2 separate regions of the Homo sapiens genome follow, and region 2 is linked to region 1. The links are contacts of gene promoters, found by promoter capture Hi-C in human tissues and cell types (Jung and others, 2019). All regions are on one chromosome and are shown on one strand. Each heading gives the region's core, a stretch centred on a gene start or on the middle of the fragment in contact. The rest is flanking DNA. Distances are from core to core; before and after follow the strand shown. Region 1 holds the start of TCEANC (transcription elongation factor A N-terminal and central domain containing). Region 2 has its middle 72 kb from the start of FAM9C.

Evidence for each region. The method cuts DNA at HindIII sites, captures the fragments that hold promoters and counts their contacts. A contact is called where the count stands out against the background at its distance.
Region 2: a contact is called between a fragment that was not itself captured here and the fragment with the promoter of TCEANC in region 1, in 1 of the 25 tissues and cell types used here (bladder).

What each region holds. Positions count from the first base shown.
Region 1 is chrX:13,649,384-13,655,569 of GRCh38, forward strand. TCEANC (transcription elongation factor A N-terminal and central domain containing) reads left to right here and starts at 3,758. Exons shown (of 5, transcript NM_001297563.2): 1 at 3,758-3,805; 2 at 5,906-5,990. LOC107985657 (a long non-coding RNA gene) reads right to left here and starts at 4,056. Exons shown (of 1, transcript NR_171573.1): 1 at 3,114-4,056. RefSeq lists enhancers at 3,441-3,630, 3,891-3,980 and a silencer at 3,559-3,870. The HindIII fragment of the contact is 15,832 bases long and covers 718-6,186 here.
Region 2 is chrX:13,114,040-13,120,093 of GRCh38, forward strand. No RefSeq gene overlaps it. Among named protein-coding and RNA genes, the nearest start is that of FAM9C, 72 kb to the left of the region's middle. The HindIII fragment of the contact is 4,425 bases long and covers 946-5,370 here.

The sequences.
Region 1 (6,186 bases), core at 2,508-5,007:
GCTGTCTTGGAAGGACCCTGACCAACAGGCCTGCAGGTGAGGTAACCCGACAGAAAAAGTTTGTGTGGGATGTGCTACCAAAAGCAGGAGCCAGCGGTTAACCAGAGGGTGCAGCATCTGAACCATGGAATGGGTAATAAGGGGCTACCAGCAAAGGGAGGGTCCTCCAAAAAATCTCCAAAGTGGGCCCCTCCAAAGAACAAAAGAGGTATTAGGTTGGTTTAAGCAATCTGTGGCCCACCAGCCAGGGACTGCCTGACCCGTTGAACTAGCTCTTCTGGAAGCCTCTGGGGATGTTCACTGGAGATACCATGTTCGCTGCTTCTCTGTCATTTCACCTGCATAAGTCTGAGAAATATGTTGCAGAACTTAAACATAAAGTTTCTGTTTCTATAATGTATGACTTTTTGTTCTATTTCCTAATATTCTGTAACTCCTGAGATTTCAAGGGAACTCTTCATCGTTTTAATCCCATGCCTTATGTACTGTGACTTATAAGAACATCCCCAGTTAAGCCCAGTGTCTGGTCCTGGTGTTTTATCAGGAAATGAACACCGGCCGGCACCTCAGAACCCAGAAAGAGGCAGTTTCTATGACCTCATTCCATGGAAAACATCTGTAACTGTTCCCTCAGCAATGTGTAACATTAGCCTCTGGAGAAGGCCCATAAGATTTTGTCTCTCTTCCGTGGGAATTTGCAGGAAAGGGCTGTCTGCATGAGCTCAGAATATCTATTAATATATTGCCACTCAGAGACTTAATAAGGATTGAAAAGAGGTTTCCGCTGCACTAAGGGAAATTTATCAAAGAGAATTCCAGAGTATTGAAGCAGCTGAAAGATGATTTTAAAACAAAGGCCTGAAAACTATGCATGATAAATTATCATAGATGTGAGTACTTTTATAGGTATTCCATTTTTAAATTGCCCAAAAGAACAAACTTTTCAGCAACCTCTTTAGAATCCACTGGCAGCCCTAGATTCATTCCAGATGAACTCAGCCAGAAATTTCTACAGCAATGAGCATGTTCTATATCTGTGCTATCCAATATGGTACCCACTAGCCACAGGTGGCTATTGAGAACTTGACATTTAGCTAGTGCAACTGAGGAACTGAAGTTTAAATTTTATCTGAATAGCCACATGTGGCTACTGTAGTAGACAAGGCAGGACTACGCAGTAATTATAGCTTGCCTCTTAGTTGAAATAATGGTCTTATCCTTCACACCAGAGAAAACACTAGGTTGTTTTTGATTTTAGACTTTTGAGTAATTTCTGTTTTTTTCTTCAGCATAGAGTTCATGAGAAATTGATTATAATATGCCTCAAAGCTCTAATGACCACTTCTGTAGTAACTTCTAGTTTCCAAACTGACTCCTTCAGATTGAGCCTTTCATAGTTTGAGTGCCATTGTTTTGACAAATATCAGATATTTTAAGAATTGCATGTTACAAATCTGATCACAAAGAAAGTATTTTTCCTAGGTAACTGTCTAAAACTAGAGATGGTTGGTCTAGGAGCCAATAGTCCTTCGGATTTTTAAATCAGTGTTTACAAAGTGGGGCAAGAGTACTCATAAAATGAACCAAAAAAGTAACAATGAGAAGAGAAATACCATTAAAGCATGTTAAATTAAATAAGCAGGAGGCTATTGGCTCAAGGCTGTCTCTGTACTTTGATTTTCTACACAATGAATTGCAATTTAACTTAGTACATAAATACACTGAAAGCTTAACCTAAGGAAGAGTATAATAAACAGCCAAGTCTCAGCCAAACACAAGCAGACAAGCTTCAGCCAATCACAAGCTGCCAACTTCTCAGATCATATCCAAATGATCTGATCATTGATTGCAACCAATCAGCCTATTTCTGTATTTTACTTCCATTCTCTGTCTATAAATACTCACGGCCCACAAAGCTCTCTGAACCTATTCTGATTCTGAGTGCTGTCCGATTCATGAATCATTCTTTGCTCACATAAACTCTGCCAAATTTAAATTACGTCAATTTTTTTTTATTTTAACAGGCAAAAGTAAAGATTATCAAGCATTCTTTTCCAACCAAACTTTAGTCAGTCTCCTGACTAGGCCTATCTGTGCACTTCCTTGTAAAATCCAGTTTTAGCAAAAAGCCTTGATAAATCAGTTTAGCCAAAAGCAACCACCCTCAATATCTGATCACCCTTAATATCTGATTTGGTTCCTCATCCTCCACCAACCTCCAGGTGACATCTGATCACCCTGGCCCGTCTTCAGCAAGAATCTTGTCAGGTTGGTTTAGACAGAATCCCCCTTACCCCTGATGTTTCCTCTTAATAATTTTCCATCCACTGACCCCCCTACCTTGCTCCTTGGCTATAAATTCTCACTTTTCCATGCTACAATTGAAGTTGAGCCCAATCTCTCTTCCCCACTGCAAGACCCTGTTGCAGTGGTACCTATGTCTATCTCAATGGTCCTGAATAAAGTCTTCCTTACCATGCTTTAACAAGTGACAAGTGTCATTAAATAATTTTTTTTTTTTGAGACCAAGTCTTGCTCTGTCGCTAGGCTGGAGTGCAATGGCTCGATCTCAGCTCACTGCAACCTCCGCCTCCCGGGTTCAAGCGATTCTCCTGCCTCAGCCTCCCAAGTAGCTGGGATTACAAGCACGTGCCACCACGCCTGGCTAATTTTTTGTATTTTTAGTAGAGACGGGGTTTCACCGTGTTAGCCAGGATGGTCTCGATCTCCTGACCTCATGATCCGCCTGCCTCGACCTCCCAAAGTGCTGGGATTACAGGCATGAGCCACCACGCCCAGCCAAATAATTTTTTCTTTAAAAAGGTATTATATAATCCTTAAACATTTTAGCCCTATAATAGACAGCAAGAAAAAAGTAACCCCTGACAGCTCTGAGCTGCCCCGGCAGTCACAGCTGGGCCTTGGTGCTGCGTGGAACATAAATACTTCACAGAACACCATCAGACGTGGCCACTCTTTGACCAGATGGATCAAGACAAAAACAAGACTCCTTCGTAATCACGTGGGAATGCTGAAAAAACGTAAACATTGTCCAAACCACAAAAATGACCAAACATCCCCTATCCCAGTTAATGAGTCACTGGTCTTGTCTCCCCTCCTTTTAGGTAAGATTTATTATGATACTTAATCATACAATCGCCCTCCTTCCTGCCAGCACCCAGTCCAGAGTATTGGATTGGATACTCTGTTTCCCTGAACCTTTCCCCAAATTACCTTGGGGTAAGGCATCAGCAAAGGAGGCTGTCACATTCGTTCAACCATCACTGTGCTTTTACTGGCCCTTTGCAGGCAAAGAATGAGAATATGCACAGATGAGAAGTCCAGGATGCACAAGACCACTCAATTAACATTTACTACTTTCATATCAACTGATGCATGCTAGGATGCTAAAAACACTTTTTGAATTAATTACTGCGTTAAATAGATTCACATTTATGTCTACAGTTATGTGAACATCTAGCTGAGCACTGTCTTGACTGTCCTGAGTAGAAGCAGAAAAGATAAGTTGTAAAGTACATCAACAAACTTTGCTGCTAAAAAACGAAAGTGCAGTTTCTTTCTCTCGGGCCCGGGGCGGGGCCATGGCTCCTCCTCTAGGAAGCCGCGCGAGCGCAGTCCCACGGCAGCCATTTCCCTAGCGCGCATGCACTGGGTCCCAGGACCACGTGCGCCGGCCTGTGGGCTTGGATTGGCTGAGCCTTGACGTTGTCCCAGTCCCGGTGATCGGAAGTTCTCCGTGGGCACTGGGCGGCTGAAGGCTCCGGAACTGCGCCTGCGCTTTTCGGTGAGTCATGCTTCAGGTTTGCCAGGGCCTGTGTCCCGCAAAAAGGCGAGCCCTTATTCCCAGCGGAAGCCCACCCCGGCTCGCGGCAGCTTTCCGGTGCGCCCTGGGCGGCGTAGATCCGAAGGTGCTCGCACCCCCGCCCCTTCCTCTCCGACTGTCGAGGTCGCCAGAGTGGGCTGAACCCTCGGGACTGTCGCTGTTTGTGTGCTGGGTGCCGGGCCGTCATCCCAAGATGATTAGCGGCAGGCTTTGCATGTTGCTCGACCCCACCCACCGGAACTCGAACCCGGGCTAGACCGGGCAGTTGGGCTGGTCCCTTCCTCTCGCTGCACCTTTACTAGGGGTCACCATTAAGGGAAATGGTCCTAGTGCAGTGCTGAGTGGCTGTTCAGTAACCGCTACACCGCTGCCAACATTTGGCATCGTTTCTCTCCATAGAGGGCGGGGCTCCCTGTGAAGCTGGGGAGCTGTTAAGTGGGTTAGGGCTAGAAAGTTACAGTTTCTCTTTAGGCTTTAAAGAGATCTAAAGATCTGAACAGATCTAGGTTATTTTTGACTTGTTACAAACTTCTGGAAACATTGTTTCCAGACCTTTCCTCTCGTTCTTCTCAGGGTTTAGGCCATTTTTGTGCAGATGTGTGCACCTTGCTTACTATAATATTAGCTAATCTTTATAAGTTTTTATATGGATCCAATACCATATTTCGTGCCTACTTTTCCTGGCACTGTATACACTTTTTGGTATAGGTATGCACCTAAGCAAGCATTATCCATATTAGCATCAGTTCTAGAACCGTGGCGTCCCAATAATGATAGCCATTAGTTACATAAGGCTTGATCACTTGAAATGTGGCTAGTCCGAATTGAGATGTGCTGTAAGTGTAAGACACAGTGAATTTTCGAGAATTAGCATGAAAAAGAATGTAAAATATCTCAATTTGTTTATATTAATCACATGTTGAAATGACTATTCTGGATACACTGGGTTAAATAAAATGTATAATTAATTTCACCAATTTTTATTTTTTAACATGACTACTGGAAAATTTTAAATCATATTTGTGGTTTACATGTTATATATATGTTGCACAGCCCTGCTCTAGAAAAGGGTCAACAAACTATGGCCTGCAGCCAAATCCAGCCTGCCTGTTTTTGTAAACAAGTGTTACCAGAGCAAGATCATGCCTATCCATTTATGTTATTTTCTGTATCTGCTGTTGCTGCTACAATAGCAGCAGAGTTGAGTAGTCCATAGAGATTGTATGGCCTACAAAGCCTAGAATATATACCTTCTGATCTTTAACAGAAAAAGTGTGCTGACCCCCTGCTGTAGAACAATGCCTGGTTTGGTAGATATTTTTAAGCCTTTTAATTGTAGATTCACATCCTATTATTCACACTTACTGTGTGACAGCCATAGTTCAAAGCACTTTATCAAGACTTTCATTTAATTCTCATTAATCCTAGGATGTTGGATTTCTCCCATTTTGTAGATGAGGAAATTGAGGCACAGAATGGTCAAGAAACTTATCCAACTTGCTCAGCACCCCTCACTTCTGGGAACTGGACCTGCTTGACCTTCCTTATGCAAATGTTTTGACCCCTCAAACCCACTTCATTAGCCCACAGTGGGCACCATGGTTTTTTTGTTTGTTTGTTTGTTTGTTTTGTTTTTTTTAACAAGATTTATTTGAACTAGAATTTTTGAATGATTTTTTTGAACTAGAATCGAGATGGGCTTGGTCTCCTACGAAAGAAGCCAAGGGGCACTGGGCTTAGGTGCAATGAGTACAAGCAAGCTGGTGTGTAGTGAAAAGAAATGAAGCTCCCAAGCAGAGAAGAGAGAGAGCATCCTGGATGCTCATTACTCATTTAACAACAACAAAAATGTGTTAAGTAATAGTAAGCACTGACTGGGTGTTTGCTAGGTGTGTATAGGTGAATAAAACATGTGGATCTTCTCTTATGGTCTTGTGGGGAAGGCAGTAAAAACGTTTTTTAAATGTGATTAACACCATGAAAAAAACTTGCAAATTATTTACTGTTTTTAGCAGGTTTCCTCACCTGTAAGATGAAAATAAGCCATTATCTGTATTGCAGGAGTATTGTGAGGATTGAGATGACTGGAGTGTGTGTGGCCTGGAGAGTTGCTCAATAAATATATGTTGCCTTCCACTGTGAAGAGGTAAGTGAGAGGGTGAATATCAGGAATTGTGTACATTATGACACTTAAAATATTACAGTTGTCATTTGTAATTTGTAGAGAAGGTTGTCAGCTGCATTGTACACAGTAGGTGTTTTAAATCTTTTCTGACTGAATGGGACTCATCTAGAAAAGCCAGTCATAGAGTTGTCTGCATTCGGTCCAGGAGCAGAACCAG
Region 2 (6,054 bases), core at 1,908-4,407, 540 kb before region 1:
GCTGCTATAATCATAGAACAAGGAATTAAGGGCCAGATGTGGTTGAGTCACGCCTGTAATCCCAGCACTTTGAGAGGCCAAGGTGGGCAGGTCACCTGAGGTCAGGAGTTCGAAACCAGCCTGGCCAACATAGTGAAACCCCATCTCTACTGAAAATACAAAAATCAGTTGGGCCTGGTCATGGGCGCCTGTAATCCCAGCCACTCAAGAGACTGAGGCAGGAGAATTGCTTGAACTCAGGAGGCAGAAGTTGCAGTGAGCCAAGATTGTGCCACTGCACTCTGGCCTGGGCAACAGAGTAAGACTCCATCTCAAAAATAAAATAAAATCTATTTAGAAAAATATCCATATGACATGGTGAGAACTGGCTGGGCAAGTGCTCCACATGGCCAGTTTGCAGCCACGTGTAAGAGGCGATATCTTGTGAAAGCTGATTATACAAATTGGGTCATTCTTGTCATGCCCAACTAAATCAGCATCAAGGGCCAGGGGGAAAAAGAACTTGGGGAACATAGCCCCTGCTCCAAGAATTGAATTTTCTACAAGCCCAGCTGCTGAAACAGCCAGCTGAAACCTGAAGAGCAGTTTTACCTAGCAGCTGCTGAAGCAACCTGCTGTGACTCCAAGCCTGGTTTTACCTACCACAGTCACTCACTGTATTCGTCCATTTCGTGTTGCTAAAAAGGAATACCTGAGGCCGAGTAATTTATAAAGAAAAGTTTATTGGGCTCATGGTTTTGCAGGCTGTACAAGCATGGCACCAGCATCTGCTTGGCTTCTGGTGAGGCCTCAGGAAGCTTTTACTCATGGCAGAAGACAAAGAGGGAACAGACATGTCACATGGCAAGAGAGAGAGAGAGAAGGAGGGCATAGTCTCTCTAACAACCAGATGTTGCTGGAACTAACTGAGTGAAAACTTGCTCATCACCAAGGGGATGACACCAAGCCATTTATGAGGGATCTGCCCCCTATGACCCAAATACCTCCCACCAGACCCCACCTCTAACATTGGGGATCACAATTCAACACAAGATTTGGAGGAGACAAACACCCAGACATCCACTCACCAATCAGAGCTTGCCAGCTCCCAAAAGCTTCTCTAGTGCCAATAAGCTTTCTTTCAAAATGATAATGTAACATTAGCATCTCTTTTTCTAATAAAACTCACAACCTTCTCTTTGTTCTTCAGACATACCGAAGACCACCCAGTCTGTGTGTATGCCCCAAACTGCAATCCCTGCTTCCCAAAATAAAATGTTAAATTTAGAGATTCATCTCTATACTTTATTTTGGCTTTGACAATCTGATTGAGAGAAAACTCAGCTGCCTCTCAGACAAGCCCAAAAGTATTACCAAATGAGGGAAAAAAAGATAAAGAGTTTCTTACAAGCTTCTATAACATCTGTCCATATCCCTGATTACCCTTTACAGCTCATGGGCTCAGTTAAAAACGACAACAGAAAAAGACTTGAGGTAGAAATAGCAGGGACAGGGTCACCTGCCAAAAAGTCCTTACATCACACCCTGCTCCTAAGAGTTCTGCCTCTTTACTTACTGGTAGTTTCCTGATAACATGTCCCCAGTCCTCCTCCATAGGTGACAACTGGGCTGCAATTGGAGCTCAGAGCAGAACTCACCAGGAAGGAAGCAGTGTGTGTTTCACAGTCCACTGTTGAGCTAATTATTCCCAGAGGCCTACGGGACTACACAGGCTTATATTGACCATTGTCAGCAGTCAGTGCCTCCCTTTTTTGAATTGTACATTGCTGGTTAACTCTGTAAGTTAAGAAGGGAGAGTATCCATTTCTTCACCTGCTGACCCAGAGCAATTTCCTTTCTTCAAGAAAAGGGAGAAGGTTATGATTTCATAAAAGCTGCCACTTCTCTTTGGATGGAAGACTAGATTTGCTACAGACATTTTCACCTTGTTATGAATTTGTCTGTTTGCTTTTGCTTTGGGAAATGGTATTTAGTGGGCAAAAGAATAGCTTATTTTTGAAGCACCAATGTGGAAAACAATAGTTAAAATATTAATATCTGTTGAAGAATCCATCAAAGGGTATACCATTTATACAAACGATAATGACTTCGGAAAATATGGCTTCAAAGGGATTGTTATTTTTTGTTTATAACCTAAAGAAAATCCCTATCTAGCAAGAGGAATTCCAATTACTTCATATATTTCTTTTTTTTCCCTCTTCTTCTTCTTTTTTTTTTTTTTTTTTTTTTTTTTTTTTGAGACAGGGTCTCTCTGTTCCCCAAGCTGGAGTGCAGTGGCACTATCACAGCTAACTACAGCCTCGACCTCATGGGCTCAAGCAATCCTCCCACGTCAGCCTCCCTAGTAACTGGGACTACAGGCACACATCACTATGCCTGGCTAAATTTTTTTTTATTTTTTGTAGATACAGGGTTTCACCATGTTGCCCAGGCTGGTCTCAAGCTCCTGGACTCAAGTGATCCACTGACCTCAGCCTCCCAAAGTGCTGGGATTATAGGTGTGAATTCCACGCCCGGTCATACTCCACAGATTTCCGATCTGACTTAAGAGCCCTCTTCCCCATCTGCTCTGCTGTGCTCTACCATTATTTCTTGTCTAGGCTTATATCATGTGATCTCCAAGGTCTCCCTTTGACTAAAGCAATTTGTGTATGTGTCTTGTCTTCCCTACTCAATTAGAAGCTCGTCAGGGGCAAGTGAACATACTGTTCCATTTGTCTAAGGTCCACATTGCTTATCTCAGTTCCTGCCACATATTAGTAGCACAATCAGTTCTTACCAAACAAATGAATCTTAAATATATTCATTGGTCATTTATTCCTTCATTCAGTTAGTCACTCAACAGATATTGTTTGAGCACAACTATACGCCAGTCATGTTCAAGGTGCTGAAGATACAAACTTAAACAAATGAGGCTGAGATCCCCATCCTTAGGAAACATATTCTATTCAGTTTGACCTGTTACTGTGAAAACCTTTAATCTCCTTGTTTAAGGGTCTAATTGCTGATTTCTGGTAGTTCATCTGAAAGGCGGTAGGAGTATATATTTTTTGTGGCCTTTCCTTTTTCCAAGGATGTGTTCAGGATCAGGAAGCAAATAAAGCCTTTAAAGAAAACCTATGAGTTCAAAATTTGCCCCAGAACATTGTGTGGCTAAAGGTACAGCCCCAGATAGATCCCTCCCTCATTGAGGAGTTGGGGCCCCGTGCATAATCTGAAAGGGAGGGGGTGAAACAAAAGGATGTAACTCACCTGTTATCGGGGGAACCCACCCCCGATAATTCAACGTGGGTCCTTTTCTATTTTCCCTAAGTATTTCTCGGCCAGTCCGAGAAATAAAGGGAAAGAGTACAAAAGAGAGAAATTTTAAAGCTGGTTGTCCGGGGGAGACATCACATGTCGGCAGGTTCCATGATGCCCAATGAGCTGCAAAACCAGCAAGTTTTTATTAGTGATTTTCAAAAAGGAAGAGAGTGTACAAATAGGGTGTGGGTCACAGAGATCACATGCTTCATAAGGTAACAAAATATTACAAGGCAAATGGAGGCAGGGCGAGATCACAGGACTGGGGCAAAATTAAAATTGCTAATGAAGTTTCGGGCACGCATTGTCATTGATAACATCTTATCAGGAGACAGGGTTTGAGAGCAGACAACTGGTCTGACCAAAATTTATTAGGTGGGAATTTCCTCATCCTAATAAGCCTGGGAGTGCTACGGGAGACCGGGGCTTATTTCAACTCTTATCAGCAACTGTAAAAGACAGACGTTCCCAGAGCGGCCATTTCAGAGACCTCCCCCTAAGAAAAAGAATTCAGTGATATTTCTCCTATTTGTTTTTGAAAGGAGAGAAATATGGCTCTGTTCTGCCTGGCTCTCAGGCAGCCAGACCTAATGGTTATCTCCCTTGTTCCCTGAACATCGCTGTTATCCTGTTCTTTTTTCAAGGTGCCCAGATTTCATATTGTTTAAACAATTTGTGCAGTTAATGCAATCATCACAGGGTCATGAGGTGACATACATCCTCAGCTTATGAAGATGATGGGATTAAGAGATTAAAGTAAAGACAGGCATAGGAAATCACAAGAATATTGATTGGGGAAGTGATAAATGTCCATGAAATCTTCACAATTTATGTTCTTCTGCCGTGGCTTCAGCTGGTCCCTCCGTTCAGGGTCCCTGAGTTCCCGCAACAACCTGTGATAAAAGACACCCTTGAGTCACCCTCTCCCCCCTCTTCCTAAAGTTAAGAATTTAGGAACTCTGTGGACTTAGAAAATGAGGAGCCAGGATAAAGCTGTCTGTGTGAATTGAATGGTAGCTGGTCATTCCAGAGGTGTTCAGAAACCTAGATATGACCTAGGAGGAAGGAGACCCACAGTACCTGAGCCTAGGGTGGAGTTGGGAGCAAGAAGAGGCAGGCAACCTCTGGAAAGTGGAAAGTAATCCACTGGGAATTCTCATAAATTTTAGGATGAGTGCAAGGCTTCCTAGAGCCTGTGTGATTGAGCCCTAAGCTGTTTTATCTAAACGTGAAAGGAAAGCCTGGGCCTGGAAAGCTGGAGTGCATGGAGAATTCAGATTATTCTTCAGTCTCAACCTTCTTTTCCACGCTAAGGAGAGCAGTTCATTGGCAGCTCTGTATAGGATGCCAAACATGTTTATCTGGTGGGTCTTCATGTTGCCTCACTTCCAGAAAATCTAAGAACTTTAAAAGACCGGCACGTTGTATACATGTACCCTAGAACTTAAAGTATATAAAAAAAAAACCCTCTAATAGTAGAAGGATCTCATTTTAAAAACTTTTACTCATAGTTGGGAACAAACTTTCCCTATATTAAAAGGAGACAGAACATCAATCTGAGTGTACACAATGCAAAATTCTGAACCAATTCCTGTTTTGTGGAACTGTTTTCTGGATATATTATATGCAGTGGACAGGTAGGTCCTTGTAGCCCACTGTTTTCTCTGAGGGATCCAGAACTAATTCCAGGAAAAAGCAGAAAGACTCTCAAGCTTATGGTTTTGATGCCTCCTTTGCCCATGAAGAAGATGCTATTTTCCATCAGCAATCTATTTGCATGAGCCACTTTGTATGTACAAACTAAAAATGAACAACATTGACCAAAACTCTCAGCAGTGGGGGCAATGTGATGAATGGATGATGACTCTTTCTCTCTCCCAGCCTTATCACCAAACCCCTCCATTTCAACGCTCAAAAAAGTAACTAAAACAAGGGAAACCCAAGGTTTCACAAAAATGACAAATTCAATTTGATTAGAACAAACTCCCGCTTTCCTCAAAGGTATATGCTCCTGCACCGTTCTGGCTTTGAAATTGAACTTTGGGAATAAAGGTTTGAAAGATCACCTTGGTTTTGGGGGGACCCATGTGGCAAATTACCTCTCCTCTATTTCTGTAAAAAATGAGGATTCAGAGAAAACTTGGAACCCCAAAACTTCCCTCTAAAAATGTAAACTTCTGCTGAAGAGGATGTCATGTTTACGACAATAACAACAACCAAAGCAGGTCATTGTGATGACAGGCGGGTTAGTCACATGCCTGTTCACATTCCATCTGCAGCTTAGACTCTAAAACCCTTTGGCTTAACGTCTCCCCTTTGGAGGCTGAAAAACAAATAGAATAATGGAGAACATTTAGCTCCAGAGGATTTAGTAATCTTTTCATCCATTTGATTTATAAAACTGATTGGAAGGAATGGAGAAGCTTCTCTTGTTGTTACCATTTAGCTCTTTACCTTGATGCTCTATTTTGCTCCCTTAAAGCTTTTAATGGTCCCAGATAAATCAGAGCTTTCACATCACCCTGCCACTTTCTGCAATCTGAATACTCTGTGTCCTAATCTAGGATCGAACAAGTTTAAAAGATCATTTGCTTTTGAACGCGGTTTGCTGAGTCTTTCTACCCTCCATGGAGATCTTCTGCATTGAAAAATTCACAATTCTGGTTCAGCTTGAACTTGGGTTTTCCAAAAGTTTCCACTGGACTCCTTAAGGATGAAAAGAGGAAAGTCTTAGAGACAAGACAGAAGGCA